Linked DNA regions of Homo sapiens: region 1 is linked to region 2. Evidence: promoter capture Hi-C in human tissues and cell types (Jung and others, 2019). All regions are on one chromosome and are shown on one strand. The core of a region is centred on a gene start or on the middle of the fragment in contact, and the rest is flanking DNA. Distances in the headings are between cores, read along the strand shown.

What was found. The method cuts DNA at HindIII sites, captures the fragments that hold promoters and counts their contacts. A contact is called where the count stands out against the background at its distance.
Region 1: a fragment that was not itself captured here is called in contact with the fragment with the promoter of CCDC136 in region 2 in 2 of the 25 tissues and cell types used here (bladder and spleen).

What each region holds. Positions count from the first base shown.
Region 1 is chr7:128,607,239-128,612,987 of GRCh38, reverse strand. No RefSeq gene overlaps it. Among named protein-coding and RNA genes, the nearest start is that of LINC01000, 31 kb to the left of the region's middle. The HindIII fragment of the contact is 7,339 bases long and covers 830-5,749 here.
Region 2 is chr7:128,788,523-128,794,903 of GRCh38, reverse strand. CCDC136 (coiled-coil domain containing 136) reads right to left here and starts at 2,936. Exons shown (of 18, transcript NM_022742.5): 1 at 2,477-2,936; 2 at 302-556; 3 at 136-210. The coding sequence starts at 2,492. RefSeq lists silencers at 3,553-3,821, 3,360-3,829. The HindIII fragment of the contact is 16,505 bases long and covers 1-6,381 here.

The sequences.
Region 1 (5,749 bases), core at 3,250-5,749, 180 kb after region 2:
AGTTCAAGACCAGCCTGGGCAACATAGTGAGACCCTGTTCCTACAAAAAATAAAAAAATTAGCCAAGCACAGTGGCACATGCCTGTAGTCCCAGCTATTCAGGAGGCTGAAGTGAGAGGACTACTTGAGCCTGGGAGATGAAGGCTGCAGTGAGCCATGACGGTGCCACTGCACCCAGCCTGGGCGACAGCAAGACACTGTCTCAAAAAATAAAAATGTAAACAATAAAATCAAAATTCACATGAGCTGCAGTAAATGCCAGAAATATATGGAAGACAGTGTTTAATGAGACTCAGAAGAAAGGGGCAATCATATTAAAATGAGACATAACATGTTAGAAATAAAGGAGAGAAATCAGAGATTCAAGCTAAGAGTCAAGAAGAAACCAATATAAACAGGGATAAAAGCATAGTTAGACATAATCACACATTTTCCAAATAAAAATATATAAACCCACATATAGATACACCCTGGGGTAATATTTAACAAATTATGGTGTTTGCTGCTTTGGTCATGAACCTCTCTGAAATACAAAATGCTTGAAAAACTGAAGGAGAAACAGAGAGAGAGAATGTGTGTTATATTTGAGAAGCAGAACAAACAGAACAAGGGGTTATGACACAAAAATCCTGCACACAGTGTTGTCTTTCCATGGGAGGGCAAAAGAGAGAATTCTCAGGTCTGCAAGGCAGAGAAAATTTAACACTGACAAATCCTTGCTGAAAAATAATCACTTAAAAATGTACCACCATCAACAGATAAAACAAGAACTATAAATAAAAAAAAATACTGTTGATAAGCCTTGAAATCAGTTGAATAAACCAGTCTAACAATGACTATGAATTTGGTCATAAAGCTGCCTCTGCCTATACTCTATACATAAGAACTTAGTGTCATATATAGCAGTAAAAATGGTAATTTAATAATAATAATATAGGCCGAGCGCAGTGACTCACGCCTGCAATCCCAGCACTTTGGCAGACCAAGGCAGGCTGATCACTGCAGGTCAGGAGTTCGAGACCAGCGTGGCCAATGTGGCAAAAACCCATCTCTATTAAAAATACAAAAATTAGCCAGGCATTGTGGTGCATGCCTGTAATCCCAGCTACTTGGGAGGCAGAGGCAGGAGAATCACTTGAACCTGGGTGACAAAGTGAGACTCTGTCTCAAAAAATTAATTGATTAATAATATAAACAGCCAAATGTAGTGGCACATGCCTATAGTCCCAGCTACTTGGGAGGCCGAGGTGGGAGGATCACATCGGGTGGGGACTGGGGAGGGCACAGCTTGCAAGACTGCGCCACCGCACTCCAGCCTGGGTGACAGAGTGAGATCCTGTCTCAAAATAAATATATAAAATTAATAATAATAGCTGGACGCGGTGGCTCACGCCTGTAATCCCAGCACTTTGGGAGGCCGAGGTGGGTGGATCACAAGGTCAGGGGTTCGAGACCAGCCTGACCAACATGGTGAAACACCATCTCTACTAAAAATGCAAAAATTAGCTGGGCATGGTGGCGGGCACCTGTAATCCCAGCTACTCAGGAGGCTGAGGTAGGAGAATTGCTTGACCCTGGGAGGCGGAGGTTGCAGTGAGCTGAGATCACGCCACTGCACTTCAGTCTGGGCAACAGAGCAAGACTCTGTCTCAAAAAAAAAAAAATTAATAATAATATAAACACACCAGACTTTACTAATAAAGGCCAGACTTAGTTTAGCTATGTGCTGAATTCCAGGTTTTATATAAAAAGGAGTCAAAATACACTATTTTACCTTATGTTTTTATTAAGTACAGAAATATAATACAAGTAAAAAAATTTTGGAGGTCAGATCATCATGAGTACAGTGACTTTTATAATCTGTATTATTAAACATATATTCAAACAAAATTGTACCCAAAGCCTAATAAGAAAGACTGACAAAGGCAAGGTTGCCGATCCCCATCTTGCTGTGTCACAGTAGCCCTGGAGGTTTCAGGACCCTGAAGAGTCAGATTAACTACCACATTAGCAGAAATAAGGATCAAACCTATACCTTCTAAATCACTAGAGAAGAGAAAAATGCTAGCCAATGTTATTCGTAAATCAGTAACATTTATGTATATATTCATTTGTGTGTGTGTGTGTATATATATATATACACACACATATCTACTTCAAACAGCTCAAAATTACTGAAAAAAAAAATGTACCAAATGTTTAATCCCAATTAATGGAATTATGAGTGACATATTTTTCTGTATTTTGTAAAGAGCATGTATAATGGTTTTTTTTTTTTGAGACAGGGTCTTGCTCTGTTGTCCAGGCTGGAGCGCAGCAGCGTGAACTTGGCTCACTGTAGCCTAGAGGTCCTGGGCTCAAGCATCTTCCCACCTCAGGCTCCCAGTAGCTGGGACCACAGACACACCACCATGCCTGGCAAATTTTGTATTCTTTTATAGAAATGGGGTCTTGCTGTGTCATGCATGCTGGTCTCAAACTCCTGATCTCAAGCAATCCTCCTGCCTCAGCCTCCCAAAGTGGCAGGTATGGGCCACCATGCCCGGTCCTTTTTACTTTCTTATTTTTTTCTTGACACGAAGTATCACTCTGTCGCCCAGGCTGGAATGCAGTGGCGCAATCTCGGCTCACTGCAACCTCCGCCTCCCAGGCTCAAGCAATTCCCCTGTCTCAGCCTCCCAAGTAGCTGGGACTACAGCCGCTTGCCACCACACCAGGATAATGTTTTATATTTTTTTAGTAGAGACAGGGTTTCTTTTCAACATGTTGGCCAGGGTGGTCTCAAACTCCTGACCTCAAGTGATCCACCTGCGTTGGCCTCCCAAAGTGCTGGGATTACAGGTGTGAACCACCATGTCCGGCCCTTTTTACTCTTTAAAAACTATGAGTCAGTCATGCCAAATTGCATGTTCAAAATATATTGATAAAGTATTTTCTAGTGATATCTATTTAATTCCAGATGAAGCATTTTAAAGGTTTCTTTTGTAAGCACAAAAAAGTTTGGGTGAGTAGGTTATAAAAGGTACAAAAAGCAAAATGGGCTAAAAAGTCCTTTGAAATAGCTTATAAAATTCAACAATATTAAAATAATTTCTCTGGAATGGGAAAACAACACTTTATACTTATTCCCACAGTTCTAGATGAAATATAACACTCCACATATCTATTTCTCCAATATAAATTCAATCATTAAAATACTACAGTATAAGATTTCCAATTTAAAGGTAGTGTTTAGAATGCAGGAACCTGGTTCCTACTCAGATTCCCTCAATTAAAGAAAAATACCCAAATGTTTATTATTTCATTGTTATTTGGCTATAGTAATTACTTCTATGATATGTACATAATCCAAATATATATAACAAATGGTGCTTGCTATAAAATATCTTACCAAATTTTAATACTTACTCTTAATAAATCATCTATTCTTCCCTCCCTCTTCTCTAGGTCAGAATTCTTACTGTTTTCTAGTGCAGATATTTTTTCTATTGTGAGGTTGGACTACAGAGACAAAGGTAAAACAAATTTAGGATTAGTCTCAACATGTTATATGTCATCACACTCTTCTCGTTACCTTTCTTGGGGGGAAAAAAAAGCACTTGCTCACACAAATGGCCTAGAATCACATGGCTTAAGAAATGAAATCTGCTTGTCTCATCTCATTGTTCAAGTCCTCTGCTGGGTTCCTTACGTCCCACTACACCTACACTTCAAATACATGTTAATTCTGGAATCAAATGTATGAATTCTCACTACTGTGCACTGAACAATGTAGAAACACGTTACTCCAGAAATGAAACTAACTTTGAATAGAAAACGATCTCACAGGAGACTTGACACAACTCTCTAAGGAACAAATGCGCCATCTGGTGGAAACAGAGAGCAATCAGAAGGGAAGAGAAGAAGCTACCTGAGTGCTCAACTATCTAACTGAACTGTACAAGAGCTGGTGATTTAGATAAAATTCAAATGTGCTCCAGGGAGTTGTATACCTCTTGAGATTTAAGAAATTCTCCTAGATTGCCAACGATCCTGTCTTGAAGATAATATATACAGTATCAAAAGAGGCTTCAAGAAAACCCAGTATACTCAAAACTACAAAATGGAAGCTATAGCCACCATCCTTTGCAGATACAATCCTCAAATGTTCAGAACACTCCCTAAATTAAAGAGTTTCTGAACACAATTTAAGGAGTAAACCATGTTGGTATCTCACATCTGAGAGAAGTTTAGCCAGGTATAAATAAGTAAGCAGGAAAAGGAATACATTAACTACTTTCATAAATTAGGGAATTAACATTTATTGAAAGCCTACTACAAGTACACTACTAATAAACATTTCGTATACACTGTCTGAGATCATGAGAATCAACCACATTTTCACAGATGATTTGTACTAAGAAAAACTGAGGCCCAGGCCAGAATCTGAACTTAGGCCACAGTGCCAGAATCTGAACTTAGAGGCCTTCAAAGTGTAGGTACTTTTCTTCTGTGGAATACTGTAGGAAAAAAAAAAAAAAGTGTGCACTTTCCTTAACACCATGCTTTAGCATAAGCATTTCTGCTACAATACACCAGAAGAGTAAAGAAAAGCCTCAAAAAGTTAAAGCACCTTCCAAAGGACTTTAAATACCCATAATGCAAGTTCTGAATATAATACACACAAATAATGAGGTGGTCAGAGAAGTCAGAGAAGAATGACAGACTACACAGGTTAGCCCTTATTCCTACACAGCAGGTATCCCCCTCAATTGATTATCGATCACCAACCTACCTGGGTCTGTCTGTGCTGGATGGAGATCTGTTTTTGGGAGCTGCAGGAATGCTCTGTGTTGCCAGATCCCGTAGATGAGGGACTGTTTTGCTGAGCCTACAATAAAGGTGCATTACCAATCACAGGAAAGTTTGGCATCTTTTTCCACAAACACTTGTATTAATGCAAACAACTCCATAATTTGTATCTCCACAATACAAACCCCTTCTTATGAAAGTGAGAAGTCAGGGCCACGTGGCCAAGAAGAAAGTAAAACAATTCAAATATGAGACAAAGGGCTAGACATGGTGGTTTATACCAAGTTCCTGTAAACAGGTTTAAAGTATCAAATGCTTACAAATGAATTTTTAAAATATGAAAATTAGAGAAAATGAAAAGTTATTCCTGTAATAACTTGCCTTTTTCACTTGTATTTTCATATGCTTTAGTCAGAAAAGGCTAGTGAAGCATCCAATGCACAAGGGGATGCACGTAAAGGACTGTGAAACACTATTCAGAATAGTCTCCTAAACACACAAACATTATCCATGAACACACAGCGGTCTAAAATCCAGGTTGATTTCTAATACTGTCACTTGCTGACTGGGCATTCTAAGGCATTTTAAATTTATATGGTTTAGGTTCCATAATATAATTAACCTATTCAGGTTATTAACCTATTCAGGTTAATTATATTATATTCTCAATAGTACTTTTTTTTTTTTTTTGAGACAGAGTCTCGCTCTGTCACCCAGGCTGGAGTGCAGTGGCGCGATCTGGGCTCACTGCAAGCTCTGCCTCCCGGGTTTATGCCATTCTCCTGCCTCAGCCTCCCAAGTAGCTGGGATTACAGGCACCCGCCACCATGCCTGGCTAATTTTTTGTATGTTTAGTGGAGACGGGGTTTCACTGTGTTAGCCAGGATGGTCTTGATCTCCTGACCTCATGATCCGCCCGCCTCGGCCTCCCAAAGTGCTGGGATTACAGGCGTGAGCC
Region 2 (6,381 bases), core at 1,687-4,186:
AGTAGAGGAAAATGAGGTGAAATTACTGAATTTGGTTATTTTTATCTGCTGTGCTTCAGTCAAACCCTCAGGAAAAAAGTACTTAGGTGACCACTTGGATGGCCACCTCCCTCCAGTCCAAGTCCTGGGAATTACCTTGGAGCTGCTGGATCTGCTTGGTGAACACCTCTGCCTGCTGGGCGCTGGCTAGCCGTTCATCCTCCAGGAGCCCTGCAGGGAGAGGGGCACCAGTGTCAAGCTCGGATCCAGGGGAGTGCAGAGCCTCTGGGCCCGGGCACTGGGCCCTGGCCCAGGCACTCACCCTGTAGCTCCAAGGAGTCATCCTCATGCTGCCCTGCCAGTTCCCGGGTCTCCTCCAGTTCTGCCACCAGCTGCAGCACCTGAGCCCGCAGCTCCTCCAGCTCTGTCTCCGTGAGGCTCAGTCCCCGGTGCTTGTTGACTGACAGAGAGCCAACACTGCCACCTTTCTGCACTTGTTCTTCTTCTTCTTCCACCTCTTCTTCCTCCTCTTCCTCTTCCTCTTCCTCCTCATAGAGAGCTGGGAGTAACACCTCCCCTAGGAGACACAGCCATCCCACCAAGGAGTCAGCATCAACTTCCTTTCTGCCGTCCTTCCAGGGCCCTCAAACTCACTATGCCAGGGCAGAGATGACATACTAGTGCCACCTGGTGTCCCCCAAGGAGCCCCGGGGCAAGACCTGTACTCAAGATGAGTCCTCAGGTGTGAGAGTCAAGTTGAGAAGCAGCCCCTCCACCTCCCAGGCCCTTCCTGGACCAATGTTGCACTTGGTAGCCTCCTATCACTGCCTGTGGGCAGGCTGGTGCCCGCTCAGCCATGAGACACTTGCACAGGATTACCTGCTTCTTCTAGGCTGGCCTCTGAGTAGCAGGACAAGTAGTCAAGAAAGGAGACAGTGAGCGGATCTTTCGGTCAAATGGGGTAACAGTTACAGTTTGGAGATTTCTTGAAAGTTAAAAAACAAAACAAAACTGACCAGGCATGCTGGCTCATGCCTGTAATCCTAGCACTTTGGGAGGCTGAGGTGGGTGGATTACTTGAGGCCAGGAGTTCCAAACCAGCCCGGTCAACATGGTGAAACCCCTTCTCTACTAAAAATACAAAAAAATTAGCTGGGCGTGGTAGTACACGCCTGTAATCCCAGCTACTTGGGAGGCTAAGGCAGGAGAATCGCTTGAACCTGGGAACTGGAGGTTGCAGTGAGGCGAGATCGAGCCACTGGCACTCCAGCCTGGGCAACAGAGTGAGTCTCCGTCTCAAACAAACAAACAAACAAAAACAACCAAACAAAAACTATCCAGGTGGCTTGTGAAAAATCAGCCTTTCCATAATAAGAAAACATTGCCCGTCAGCAGGTAGAGAAAGAAAATATCTGATTGTAGAGGTTTCATTGGACAAACTCGGGCGCCCTTTCAAATGTATATTATTAAATACCTGTTTGAAATTTTCTACAAGGTCCACCTTGTTTTTCCCTGCTGCATGTCACAAGGTCTCCTCTCCCCTAGCTGAGCCATATGAGGCCCCTCCTACTCTGCTGACCACAAAGTAGATTTCAGGGGAAGTTTTAGGCTGTACTTGTGTGTAAAAGAAAGCCTACCATTTTAATGCATTAAAAAAACTGGGGTTTGGTGCTGGCCCCCAGCCTCTGGTTGTGAGCACCCGCTCCTTTACTGCAACGCAGTCCCTATAAATAGCAAAATGTTGTCTGGATGGTGATTGTTTGCTTTGTTTTAAAATTCTGAATCTCTGGTCTTACTTTATCTAATATCAGCAGCCTTAGGTTCAACTGGGACCCTTCGTGCCATCTGTCCCCCTTAGGGGGAGCAGGTTTGCCCATACTGAATGTGCAACGTGCAACACTTCACAGGAAGTACTGGCAAATGGACCAGCGTCCTTCCAGGGGCCTGGTGTTGGCAGCAACTGCCAAGTCACATGGGTGTGGTGGGGATACACGTGTGTTGGGAGGATGGCCTCACGCGCCCCCTCCTAGGCTCTCTCTTTCAGGCAATAAGGTATCCTAAAGAACCAAAGCCACAGGCTTCCATTCGAAGTTAATGTTGGTGGCCCCAGAAAGACAATTCACATGCCCAGTTCCTTGCTTTTTAAAATAAGAGACAGCTTGGGATCTGGGTCGGCAGGCAGTGAGGACAAACCCCCTGCTGAAAGGCTGCTTCAAAGCTCTGTCCAACAAGGCCTCTTTCTCTGTCTGGCAGCTCCCTCGGGACACATAACCTGGTTAGCTGGGGGGTGATTGGGGTCCCGAAGGGATGCATCCTGAACTTCTGTCAAAGCCTGAGCCCTGGGAAGGGCTGGAGCTCTGAGCTGCAGGAAGAGGGGCTAAGATGAACTGAGGGAAGGGCTGTGTCCTGGCTCAGAGGCCTGGGGGTCAGAGGGAGGAAAGAAGGGAATTAAGGGAGGAGGGGAGGGGAAAGAAAGAAGCCTTTTGGGAAAACTCACCCTCCATAGCTTGCATCCCCCGTCGTTCCAGGGACCCCCAGCGTTGGCCCTTCTTCCTCTCACAGCCCTCGGAAGCCTCATAGGAGCCTAGAGTGGTCACTGTGGGTCCTGAGAGCAGGGAGAAAGGAGGGGCTGGGGGGTGGGGGGCTGGCTGCGGGCTGGGGTGCAGAGGAAAGAAGGGGACATGTCTTCCAGCTCCTCGAGGCTCTGGGATCTGTAATCCCAGTGGAGGTGCCTGACTCACTCTGGCGGCTCTGCGACTCCTCTCTCTCGGCCACCTCTCAGCCCTGCCTCCCAGCCTCCTCAGAACCCGCTGTTCCAGGACCCTCTTGCTTGCACAGAAAGAAAGAGGGGGTGTGCGTATTTAGTCCGGGGGGACAGGGAGGAGAGGGCCAAGACTGAAAGAGGGCGGGAGCCAGTGAAGAAGAGGCTGAAAGGCTGAGGTGGCCTACAGATGGAGGGAGGGAGGAGTGGGGGGCGTGCGGGAAGGGGTAGGGCTGCGACCGCTCCCCTCCCCTCTCCTCCCATTCTCTCGCTGGACCTTGCCCACCCCACCCTCGCCCCGCGCTCAGGAGTCTCCGGGGCTGCAGGAGGTGTAGGGTCTGCAGTCCCGAAGGCTGGAAGCACCGTCGGACTGAAGTGGAGAGACGCGCTGGGGAGGGACCACCAGGCAGGATGCGGCCGGTGCGCGGAAGCCTCAGTCCCAGGCCGGAAGGATGGAGACCGGGCCCCGGTGGAGGCCAGGATGGAGGGAGGAAGACTTTGGGCGGAGAAAGGGGAGCCGCGGAGGCCGGGAGCACCTGGGGGTCTGGAAGGAGGAGGGATGGAGGAGAGAAAGGAGGGGCGGTAGACAGGTGACGGAGGGGCGGCTCTGACCTGGGCCCGGGCAGCTCCAGCCCGCGGCTCCCGCGCCGGCTCCGGCGCCCGCCTCCATGACCGCTCCCGCCGCCGCCTTCCGCCTCCCTGAGCAGAAGCCGCAGCCGCGAGCCCGGGGACCCGAGCCGGGTGCGCAGGGAGGGAGGGAGGGCGGACGAGGGGGCGGGGCCTGGCCGGGCCTCCTGACACCGCCCCCCGCCGCTCGCCGCCGCCCGGAAGCCCTCCCAGCACTCGGGAGCTCCGAGCCCGTGCAGGGGGCGGCGCGGGAGGGTGAGCGCGACCCCGGATACGCCCCAAGGCTCTCCCCTAGAGAGCGCGGGGAGCCGCGGGGCCCGGACAGCGTCAGGAGCTCCTAGGCTTATGGCTGCCCCAAGAGGGAGGAGCGAGATCCCCTGGTTCTGGCGGCGGGTCCCCCCGGGGTCTGCTGTGCCCAGGGACCCTTCTGCACCAGGTGTCAGGGCCCGGTCATGCTCAGCAATGGGGACGGCAAAGGACGAGGTGGGACTGTTTCCTCCAAAAGCGCAGACACGCGCGCCCCTCCTTCCCTCCCTCCCCCGCCCGGCCGGCGCCCCCACCTAGCAGTCCGCGCTGACTCCGGCCCCAGGCCCTGCCCACCCCTGCCCGGTGGCCCCTCGGCAGCCTGGGGGCCGGAGGAGGGAAGTCGAGGCCCGGATGGGCGAACGGCAGGGCCCTGACCTCTCCGCTTTCCGCGACCCCCCACCGAGCCAGGGCCAAGGACCCTCTTAGGAGGAGCCCTCCGGTGGCCCCATCAAGCCTCAGGGCCGGAAGACCCCCTCTCCTCCGCCCTGTCTTCCCTTCCGGTCCCACACCCGGTGGGCTGCGAGCCACGCCCCCACAGTAGCCCGCTCAGAGTGGGCACGACTGATGTTCACTCTCGTGGAAGGGAGATTTGGAAGCCCAGGGGGCTTATTTCACGTCTTCAACCATTCGTTTATTCAGGCTATGACTACTGGGTGCCGGCTCTTGAAGAGGCAGTTCTCACATCTCGGCAGGTCTCGGCAAGGATAGAAGTGGGCACAGTTGGGAACAGGGGCTCCCCAGCACATCCAGGAAATGGCTGGAAGATTCCTAAGCCAGGGACACACGCGGATCCCCTCTCTGGCACATCCACTCACAGGTCGAGGGCTAGTATTGTCTGCGTTCCCCCCGCTGCAGGAAAGGGATCCGGATCCAGACCGCAACAGAGGGTTCTTGAATCTCACGCAAGAAAGAATTCAGGGAGGTCCATAGGATAAACTAAAAGCAAGTTTATTAGGAAAGTAAAGGAATAAAGAATGGCTACTCCATAGACAGAGCAGCCCCAAGGGCTGCTTTTTTTGGTTATTTCTTGATGATATGCTAAACAAGGGGTGGTTTATTCCTGACACCCCCTTTCAGACAATGTAGGGTAACTTTCTGATGTTGCCATGGCATTTGTAAACTGTCATGGCACTGGTGGGAGTGTAACAGTGTGAGGATTACTAGAGGTCACTCTCACTGCCATCTTGGTTTTAGTGGGTTTTGGCCGGCTTCTTTACTGCAAGGTGTTTTATCAGCAAGGTCTTTATGACCTGTGTCTTGTGCCAACCTCCTATCTCATCCTGTGACTTAGAATTCCTTAAACGTCTGGGAATGCAGCCCAGTAGGTCTCAGCCTCATTTTACCCAGCTTCTATTCAAGATGGAGTTGCTCTGGCTCAAATGTCTCTGACATCCCACAGGCTCCCACGTCCACAAGCCATCCCTGTTCCACGGGAAGGAAGCCCTTCTTTGCCTGGACTTCCCCCTCCTTTTCAGCTGGGGGTCACCTCCAGGTGGCCTTCTCTGACTGGCACCCCATCCCTGCCCCACTAGGCGCTTTTGTGGTGCTCGCCCCTATTTGTCTGTAACAGCACCAGGCCCTCCGGGTTGTCCGGGCTCTGCCCAGTTTCCTGAAGGTTAGGGGGATCTTAGTTATCTTTGTATTTCCAGCATCTGACAGAGTTTCTGACACAGGATAAATGAGTTAAAGGTCAATCTCCCAGCTACCCAGTTAATGCCCTGTCTTATCATTTAACATGATTTCATATTTGTGGTGTTAAATGTTGCCTATTAATGATGATGTTGCCCATAAGTCTCTCTCCCTCCCCCAACTCCTTGCTCCTTTTTTCTTCCTCTGCCTCTCTCATTATCTCAGCAGAGAGATGATGAGCAGAGATCAAGAATGTTTTCTTTGCTCCCAGATGACAAGATTCTACTCCAGATCCTGTGGCCAAGGTGACACAGTTGTGGGGAAAGTTGAACAAGCCCACCCAGACCCCTTCTGCAGAGGGTTTACTGCAGACGCCAAGCCTGTCCAGATTTGGGGAGCAGAGCATTTGTCAGGGGTGGTAGAAAGGGGCTGCACTGGGGGCTTGAGGGATGCAGTGCTCTGGGAACTGGCAAAGACTAGTTCTGGAAGCTTACTGGCTGTTCTTTCTGCCCAGCGCAGCTCCTCCTGGTTCTGCCTCCGCCAGCAGGGCCACGTTAGCGGTTGGCCTTGACTGCTGACCTCTTGGTGAATGTAGGGAGGCACAGCAGGGAAATTGTCGATGGTGACATCCAGGGTTCAAGCTCTCCTCAGGGAGCTCTGATCCTGAGTATTAGGACTAATCTCTCCCTGGCTCCTGGCATGCAGGTCACCTTTCACCCTTGATTTGGGAGAACATTTAAGAGAGACCTGAACCAGTCTATTTTCAGGAGCCAAACTTGGTCAAACCCTGGCCAGACCAGTACTGGGTTGAGGGCGGAGGGAGGCAGTTAAAAGGCGGGAGAAAAGAGCTTAAGAGATATGAGGGAGGTGGGCTGTGGTCCAGAAATGCATCTCTGAGGGGCCAGGAGTGGTGGGCATGTCAGCCAGGTGATCAACCTAGGGGGATGATCTGAATTAATCCCTGTAATCCCTGGACTCAGGGCTCAGCCTCCCTCCTAATCCCATCCCAGGAGATCATCCTCTTTGAGGACTGATGTAGCCATTTATCCCCCTTTACCCTTATTTCTAAATGCCTAGAT